Regions from separate parts of the Homo sapiens genome. Here region 1 is linked to region 2. The links are contacts of gene promoters, found by promoter capture Hi-C in human tissues and cell types (Jung and others, 2019). All regions are on one chromosome and are shown on one strand. The core of a region is centred on a gene start or on the middle of the fragment in contact, and the rest is flanking DNA. Distances in the headings are between cores, read along the strand shown. Region 1 has its middle 33 kb from the start of OR8B8. Region 2 holds the start of PANX3 (pannexin 3).

Region 1 (5,048 bases), core at 1,510-4,009, 130 kb before region 2:
CCTATTCTATTTCTGGGAATAGTTGCATCCAGGAGGAAGAACATAAGCATGGGTGAACTGATGTGAAAGGAAACCTTATTTCTACTGTATACTTTTTTGTACTGTTTAATTTTTTACCATGACATGTATTCTCAAGAAAAATGTATTCCTTCTTAAGTGGAAGCTGTTAATCACCCACCCATAATCTAATTACTGCCATCTGCAGAAGAAAACAAATCCTACAGCAAACATCTTATTCAACAGTGAAAGCCTTAATGCCTTTACCCTAAGGTCAGAAACAAGACAGGGTCATCCATTCTCATCTCTATTAATCATTGTATTGGAAGTCTTAGACAGGACACTGAAAAAAATAAAATAGATAAAAGGTATAAAGACCATTAAGGAAGAATCAAACCTGTCTTTATTTGCAGATTACATGAGTATATACAGAAAAAACAAAGTACAAATTCTTAGTTTCTCTTTTGTCGAGTTTAGCTAACAATTAGATTTCATAAGTGAAATAACAAAGATGCTAGATACAAATTCAGTATACAAAAAACAACTGTGCTACTACATACTACTAATAATTGAAAATTAAATTTTAAAAAGTTATTTAAAATAAAGTAAAAGGTATGAAAGGTATGAAATTCCACTTCGAAACAAGAAAAGCATGTCTGTTTTCCTCATTACTATTCACCATTGTAATGGGAGAATACAGCACTTTGGCTCCATGTCAACTTCTCTCAAATTAGTCCCACTAAATTATTGTCACTTGATCTTCAAATACACACGTACAAATATAGCCAATACAATTCAGGGAGGAGAGAAGGTCTTTTCAATAAATGATGCTGATGCAACTTAATATCTTTATGAAAGAAATAAAACAACTGCACACCATACATGATAACTGATTTAAAATTGATCTAAAATCTAAATTTTAAAGGAAAAATCATGAAGCTTTCAAAGGAAAACCTGAGAATGACTTTGTGACTATGTAGTAGGAAAAAAATTAAACAGAAGAAAGCATGAACAGTAAAAGAAGTGGACAAATGAACTTTATTCAAATTGAAATTGAAATATCATTATCAAAGGACATAATTAATGAGTAGTCATGGGGCAAGCCAGAGACTGAGTAAAGATAACTGCAATGTGTGTGTCTGAAAAAGTACTCATATCCAGATTATACGTTTTAAAAAACTAATCAATAAGAAAAAAGAATAACAACACTTTTTTTTTTTTTTTTTGAGATGGAGTCTCACTCTGTCGCCCAGGCTGGAGTGCAGTGGCGCGATCTCGGCTCACTGCAACCTCCGCCTTCTGGGTTCATGCCATTCTCCTGCCTCAGCCTCCCAAGTAGCTGGGACTACAGGTGCCCACCACCACACCAGGCTAATTTTTTTGTATTTTTAGTAGAGACGGGGTTTCATCATATTAGCCAGGATGGTCTCGATCTCCTGACCTCTTGATCCGCCTATCTTGGCCTCCCAAAGTGCTGGGATTACAGGTGTGAGCCACCGTGCCCAGCAACAACACTATTTTTAAGTAGCCAAATGACTTGAACAGGCACTTCACAAATGGTGATGTCCAAATAGCTAATGAACATATAAAAAGTGCCCAACAAGGCTGGGTGTGGTGGCTCACACCTGTAATCCCAACACTTTGGGAGGCCAAGATGAGAGGATCACTTGAGCCCAGGTATTTGGTAACAGCCTGGGTAACATAGTGAGACCTCATCTCTACAAAAAATAGAAAAAGTGGCCAGGTGTGGTGGCATGTACCTATAGTTCCAGTTGCTCAGCAGGCTGAGACAGGAAGATAGCTTGAGCCCAGGAGTTCAAAGCTCCAGTGAGCCATGATCACACCATCGCACTCCAGCCTGACAACAGAGCAAGACTTTGTCTGTTAAGAAAAGGTCAGGAGTTCGAGGCCAGCCTGGCCAACATAGTGAAACCCCGTCTCTAGTAAAACTACAAAAATTAGCCAGGTGTGGTGGCAGGCTCCTGTTACCCCAGCTACTCGGGAGGCTAAGGCAGGAGAATTGCTTGAACCTGGAAGGTGAAGGTTGCTGTGAGCCGAGATCATGCCACTGCACTCCAGCCTAGGCGACAGAGCAAGACTCCGTCAAAAAAAAAAAAATCATTATTTATCAGGGAAATATCTAAAAGACTAAAGCAATACTGTACTACACACCCAACGGAGTAATTAAAATGAAAAATACTGAAAATAAGGATGAAGAGTATCCTTTTCTGGAATTTATTGATGGGAGTGCAAATCAGTTTAAATATTTTGGAAGACAATTTGATAGCATTTAGAAGCCTAAACATATGCCTACCTTGTGACCCATAAAATCTACATCTAGGTATATACCCAAACAAAAATAAGTGTATATTTCCAGCAAAATACATGTTCAAGAATGTTTATAGGCCAGGCATGGTGGCTTATGCCTGTAATCCCAGCACTTTGGGAGGCCGAAGCAGACAGATCACGAGGTCAGAAGTTGGAGGCCAGCCTGGGCAACATGGTGAAACCCTGTCTCTACTAAAAATACACAAATTGGCTGTGTGTGGTGGTGGGTGCCTGTAATCCCACCTACTTTGGAGGCTGAGGCAGGAGAATGATTTGAACCCGGGAAGTGGAGGTTGCAGTGAGCCGAGATCGTGCCATTGCACTCCAGCCTGGGCAACAGTGCGAGACTATGTCTCAAAAAAAAAAAAAAAGGAATGTTTATAACAGCTTTATTAATAACATGTAGAAATTGAAAACAAGGCAAATGTCCATAAAGAAGATATTGATAAGCAAATTGCTCTACATTCTTACAATGGAATACTAAAATAAACAGCAATAACCAAGAAAACTGTTATGGATGAATCTCACATGACTCTCTATGTTAAGTGAAACGTAAGAAAGTAAATGCACTATTTAACATTTATATGAAGTTCAAGCACGAGAAAAATGAAACTGTGATGATAAAGTAAGAATAGTGAATATTTCCAGGAAGAGCATGGGGAGTAGTAATTACTGGGAAAGGGCAGGCAGGAGTACCCTGAAATGATAAAAAATCTGCTATATTTTCATTTGGGTGGAGGTAAGTAATCATAGCCTTATAAATGTGAAAAAAAATCATCGAGCAGTTAATGTTTGTGCACTTCACTGTAAAATTTATATTTCAATTTAAGAAGGAGTAGGGTGTTTTCATTGTACTGATTCTCCACCATTCCCAGTGCACCCTCAATCCATGTGTCTTGAATTTCATCATCATTCATCTCCCTTAGCATCAAAACACAACCCTCCCCTACACTTTCATTTCCTGAATTCTATCCTCGTTAAACCAAAAGATTCCAAAGGAAGAAAGCTAAACATTAATCCGAACTTCCCCTTTTTCTAATAGAAGATAACTTTTCAAAGTTTGTAAATTAAACTATCTTCCAGACAGTTCATATGCCATGACTTCTGAAATAATTGTTACCATTACTAATGTATTCAGATCAAAAAAATTACTCTCATTCGTTATACAAAGTTGTACTTCCACTTACCCAATGCTGTGAATATATGACCTCTCCTAAGACCACCGTCCCTTCCCTTTATGCCCTATTGTTATTAATAGAAGGTCACAGATATATGCAATGTCTTAACTATATAATGGCAATTGCCTCCCCTAACAACTAGTTGGCTGCCGTGGTTCTAATGGCTCACTTATCCAGAGCTGTCTATTACTAATTTACATTATTCAGACCTTTGAGGTGAGGCTCCAAATTCTGTCTCCGTTAATCTTCAGATGAAGAATAAAGCTTGTATCTAACAAATTTAACTCCCTCAACTCTGTTTATCTCTCCCTTAGAAGGCCTTCTATTGTAAGCCTTCACTCAAGGCTCTATACCATCTCCATGGGCACCATCCTTGATTCTATAAGGAACCTAATCTACTTCTCACTCACACACCCCAAAATTCTTTAAAATTTTCTCTTATCTTTTTGTCAAGACCACATCAACCACATTTTTCACTTCCAACACTCTTGCAAAAATGTTATTCCAAAAATTAACCTTTGAAAAGTTGCATGACATCACTATGAATATAATTAGATATCTTTAAATGCAAAAAAAAAAATTTTAAATGAAATCAGTCAGGGAAACGATGGAACAAGGAAGTGTAGCTGAAGAAAAACACAGCAGATTGTATTAAAATTCAAGAGCCTGGACTCTAGTTTCAGCTCTGGCATCAGGTACATGTGTGTCCTTTGGCAGCCTACAAAATATTTTTGAGTGTGATGTATTGCATGAGGAGACTGGAGTAAATGATTTCATAAGCCTATTCAAGATTAAACCCTGTATAACAGTAGAAACTATTCTCATAAAATAACAATTGGAATAGTTGGTGTGGATAAGCAGTGCAGGGTGTAAGTGCACTTAAGAATACATTTAAAATTTTTCTCTAAGTATAGGAGAGAAAGCAGTGGCATTTGTTCCCTCACTGAAAAAAAGAAAAGAAACCCCCTGATTAACAAAGGTTTGGATTCCCTTTCTCATTCATTTTTAAGAGACTAATTTTCTGCAAAAGGTTCTCCTCAGGGCAACTTTGACATCTTTATTCCTCAGGCTGTAGATTAATGGGTTAAACATGGGCACCACAGCAGTACAAAAAATGGAGGACACTTTCCCCTGGTCCAGGGGTAGAATAGAAGGTGGTTTGAGGTACATGAAAGCACCTGACCCAAAGAAAAGCGATACCACAATTATGTGGGAACTGCAGGTACTGAAGGCTTTAGACCTGCCCTCTGTGGAACTAATGTGGAGAATGCTGGAAAGAATAAAACCATAAGAGAGAAAAATGGTGACAATCGGCACCCCAATGCCAACGGTCACAATAATAAAAACCACCAGCAAATTTATGTAAGAGCTGTTGCAGGAGAGCTCAAGGAGAGGAAGGATGTCACACATATAGTGATTGACAAGGTTGTCTCCACAAAAGGACATAAACATTATGTTTCCCATATGAGCCACAGCCCCAAAATCCCCATCCCATAGACACCCAGTAAAAGGAGCAAACACATCTGGGGAGACATGGTGACCGTG
Region 2 (4,953 bases), core at 2,427-4,926:
GCAACCTCCACCTCCCGGGTTCAAGTGATTCTTCTGCCTCAGCCTCCCGAGTAGCTGGGATTACAGGTACCTGTCTCCACGTCCAGCTAATTTTTCGTATTTTTACTAGAAATGGGTTGTCATCATGTTGGCCAGGCTGGTCTCGAACTCCTGACCTCAGGTGATTCACCCACCTTGGCCTCCCAAAGTGCTGGGATTACAGGTGTGAGCCACTGCACCCGGCCTCAGAAAGAAGTCTTAAGCAAATGGAGGGATATGCCATGTTCATAGATTTGAAGACTAAATGCTGTAAAGAAGGCAATTTTTCCCAAATTAAGCTGTAAATTAAAGTCACAATCAAAAATTCCAGCAGGTTTCTTTCCTGCTGAAATTCAAAAACTGATGGTAAAATTCATGTAGAAATGCAAAAGATCCAAAATAGCCAGAGCAATCCTGAAGAACAATAAAACTGGAAGATCTACACTACAGGTGCCAAGACCTACTATAAAGCTATACTAGCTAAGATATTGTAGTGTTGGCAAAAAAAAAAAAAAAAAAAAAAAGACATTGTCAGCTGGAACACAGTCACCTGATTTATGACCATGACAACACTGCACTGCAATGAGAAAGGAAAGGTCTTACAATAAATTGTGCTGAGTCAGCTGGATAGCCATATGGAAAATAATATTTCTTGACTCATATCTCATACCATATGTTAAAAAAAATTATAGATGAACTGCAGACCCAAATGAGAAAGATAAAACAAAAATATTTTGGAGAACACCTAGGAAACATTTTTCATGGTATTGTAATTAATAACCAATTGCTTCTTAAACAGAATACATATAGCACTATCCATAGAAAAAAATGATACATTGACTGTATTAAAATTAGAAATTCTGGTCATCAAAAGACACCATTAAGAGAATGAAAAGGCAACAAGTGGAGTGGAAGAAGATATAAATAAAACATATTGCTAGCAATGGTCTCACATCCAGAATATTTGAAAGAGTACTACAAATCAATAAGCAAAAGACAGACAACCCAACAGAAAAACAGGCAAAAGACTCAGACGTACACCCACATCCATCCACAAAAGAAGATATCCAAATGGCCGAAGTAGCCAACTTCATTAGTCAACAGAGATATTCAAGTTAAAACCACATTGCATTACTACTATACACCTTCCAAAATGGCTTAAAAAAAATTTTAATTCCAAAAGTGTAATGTCAAGGATGTGCAGCAACTAGGATTTTCATAAGCTGTTGGTGAAAGTGTAAACTGAAACAACCTCTTGAAAAACTATAGAGATAAACATATGCATAGCATTATGACCTAGCAATCCCACCCCTCAATATGTACCCAACATAAGTGCATACATATATTCACCAGGAGACACATATTAGGATGTTCACAGCAACAGTATCTCATAACATCCAGAACCTGAAAACTCAAATATCTGTCAGCTTATGAATGGATAAACAAATTGTTATATATCTACACAGAGGAAACGCATTTCTGGTACATGCAACATGGTGAATCTCAAAAATATGTTGAGCAGAGAATCCAGACACATAAACACATGCACATGATTCCATTTACATAAAGTACAAAAACAGGCAATGAAATGGATGATTCTCATAAATATGATGTGGAGCAAAAGAAGCCAGACACAAAAGAGTAAATACACAAGATTCCATTTTCATAATGTATAAAAAAGCAAAACTAATCAATTAGAAGTTTATATAATGCTTACCGTTTGGAAAAGCTGGAAGAGAGGAGCACAGAGGTGGTTTCTGGGGTGCTCGTAATGTTCTGTTTCTTGATCAGACGAGTATTTATTAAACTGCATCCTTATGGTATGTGAATTTTTCTCTCGTTTTTTGGTCTTTTTAATTTTTTATTTCAATCGCTTTTGGGGTACAAATCGTTTTTGGTTACACGGATAAACTGCATAGTGGTGAGGTCTGAGATTTTAGTGTACCCGTCACCCAAGTTGTGTGCACCGTACACAATACTAAGGTGTGTACATTATTTCTCAATAAAAATGTATTTTTAAAAAGTAAAAGGATATGCATGCATACAAACTAATAATAAACATTTGGCAAAAACATGCCTAATTAAAAGATACAGAAATGTGGTGTGGGGAGGGTAATGGGGAATAGAAATAAAGGGTCCCTTCTGCTGCCCCATGACCCATACACGCCAGTTAGCCCACGCGGGGCAGCTCTGAATCCAAGTTGGCCTCTAGCCTGTGGGATGGGGAGAGAGGTAAGCCCAGCCCAAACATTTGTGGCCTAGGAGAAAAAAGTTCAAATACAGATCCACATACCATATATCTAAAATATTAAAAGTTATAAACCAAGTTAACAAACTGTTAAATAAAATATGTTATTCTTGCTCACCTAGACATATATAGACAAACACACCCCAGCTTCATAATGATCAGGAATGCCAGATTCAAATTTAGAATCCTCAGACTCTCCCAAGCCCCTGGCCCAATCTTCTCTTCCCAACTCAGCTAACACCCACATTGCAAAAAACCTCAGAATTGCATGTGTGGACACCCCAAGATTTATAAATTGCATCCAAACCCTGACAACCAGCCATTCCTTGGGCCTAGAAGTGCACACCAGCAGCACAATCTTCCCTTGGGCAGTTGCCCCTGAAAAAAAGGCCCACACAGGTCTGGGAAGCAGGCTGAGGCCATTTGGGCAGGGCCTTAGAGAGTGGTTTCTAGCTGGGTGCACAGACTCTGAATGGACACATCCCCTTGGGCCCACGTACTCCTTGCCTCATGAGAAGGACACAACCAAAGAGGATAAGGTTAAGAGCCTCTATTGCCAGTTTAAGGGCAACACTAGAGACAAGAGTGCCCTATTCTCCACTTACCCACCCCCACCAAATTGAAATAAGAGCTGACACTTCTGCTACACTTTACGGTTTACAAAGCACCTTCACAAACAATACTCTTAATCAATCCCCACAGTCTTGTAAGCTTGTTACATATCACAATTTGAGAGATGGGGAAACTGAGCTAAAAGTGACTTGCCTGAAGTCACACAGTTAAAACCTGAGTACTCCTAGGTCTCCAGTGGAGGAGTTTCTCCTCCGAATTTCAAAGGTTGTACTCTTTCCATGACTCAACACTGCCATGCATCCCCCAGCTTTGTAAAGAACCCAAGGGCTAAAAAGGAATTGGAAATTGTAAATATGTAGTTGAAACATTTTGGAAAAAAGACCATAGTCAGGGAAGGAAATCTAACACCAAATACAGAAAAGTTCTGGGAAAGAGTCTGGGCCCAGAGCAAAAATCATCACTGGGACAAAGACTACTATGTAGGGTAGCAATCCCAGCTGGGTCGTGGGGACTCCATTCCCACTCCAAACCACAAAATGAGTGCCTTCAAAACATTTAAGCAATCCTCACCCAAATTCCACACAAATTACATGGAGGGGGGTCCTGGCTCCACAGCCCTCCTTCTCTCCACTGAAAATACTTTATCAATGACAGGGCAGCATAAAGCCACAGACCTCCATCTGCTCTAGGACAATCCAGACAGCAGCGTGGCACCAGGCCCAGGTAAGGCCCGACCCTCCTCCAGCAAGGACCCGCTAAGGCTATGCCTCCCTCTAATTAGCAGGGCCTGGCTCAGGGCCTGGGCAGTTATTTAGAGAACCATCGCCTGCTCCCAGCAGAGATATCCATAAGGCTGGGGTGGCAGGCACTGTCTGCCCAAAGTCAGCTGCCTGAAGCTGCCGTCTCCTCATTCCACCATCCCAGGACCCCTGCTGCCACCTCTGCACCCCCAAGCTCAGCAGCATCATGTCACTTGCACACACAGCTGCAGAGTACATGCTCTCAGATGCCCTGCTGCCTGACCGCAGGGGACCCCGCCTCAAAGGACTGCGTCTGGAACTGCCCCTGGACCGGATAGTCAAGTTCGTAGCTGTGGGCTCCCCCTTGTTGCTGATGTCCCTGGCATTCGCCCAGGAGTTCTCCTCTGGTAAGTTGCTTCCAAGACCCAGTGCGCAAGAGAGACTCCCCCTCATGTCACTCTCTGCATGGGCTCTGAAGTGAGATGGTGCGCACAGTGACGGGATTCCATGGCTTCGGGCTGGGCTGGATTATCCAAAAGGCAGATGGTGCATGAGTTCAGGGCACCAGCAAAGCAGAGGCACCAAAAAATTTTGAAAGTCATCTCCAAAATGTTACAGTAAAAAAAAAAAAAAAAAAAAAAATTGTTGTAATTTTAGTATTCATATATTTTATGTCATTTCAAATGATGAAAGCTTTATTTTGGCTTTCATTATGGATGAAAGAAGTTGACACTCCTGGTAATGTTTTTAGGGCCTTAGACCTCTTCATCTTAGCTGGGCTGTCGCCAAGTCTCTTATTTGCTCTGGGCCCTCTTCCCACCCCTAACCCGCCAACTCCAGGGTTATTGACTTGAGAACATGTGTTAAGTGCCTGAGGGCCATGCACATTGGAGATGCTGCATAAACCCACTGCTTCCTGTCTACAAACCCCAGCCGCACACACAGACATTAGCATACACATACATCTAGGGTTTCAGGTGCTAGATTCAGTCAGCAAATCCACTACCTTTGTTAAAGAGAATGTGGACTTCCTGAGAACTGAGACTTCTGGCTTTCCTTTCTGGCAGTGCCATTAGCTTACTACATTTCCCAAACAGGTGTGCCAGCCTCCCACCGCCTCTTTATTCATCCACAACCAGGGCAGAAGAAATGGCTCCCACTTCTTCCTCTTTCTGGAGAATGATGTGAAAACAAAAAGGCAGGAACTCTCCTCCAAGTCCACTTTCCTTTCGGCATAATTTGCCCACCCTTTCTCTTCATTTAGGCTCGGAAGCCCAGGCAATTCATCCTCAACATTTTAGAGTCTAAAGGATGTCAGTTATTTCAGGAAAGAGACATCACCATCAAACCGCAAGCCTTCTGGTACCAGACTAC

The links. Contacts are between HindIII fragments. The study calls those that stand out against the background at their distance.
Region 1: a fragment that was not itself captured here is called in contact with the fragment with the promoter of PANX3 in region 2 in 1 of the 25 tissues and cell types used here (H1 embryonic stem cells).

Annotation. Positions count from the first base shown.
Region 1 is chr11:124,476,489-124,481,536 of GRCh38, forward strand. It overlaps the pseudogene OR8B9P. Among named protein-coding and RNA genes, the nearest start is that of OR8B8, 33 kb to the left of the region's middle. The HindIII fragment of the contact is 5,845 bases long and covers 1-5,048 here.
Region 2 is chr11:124,607,752-124,612,704 of GRCh38, forward strand. PANX3 (pannexin 3) reads left to right here and starts at 3,677. Exons shown (of 4, transcript NM_052959.3): 1 at 3,677-3,986. The coding sequence starts at 3,806. The HindIII fragment of the contact is 5,182 bases long and covers 1-4,914 here.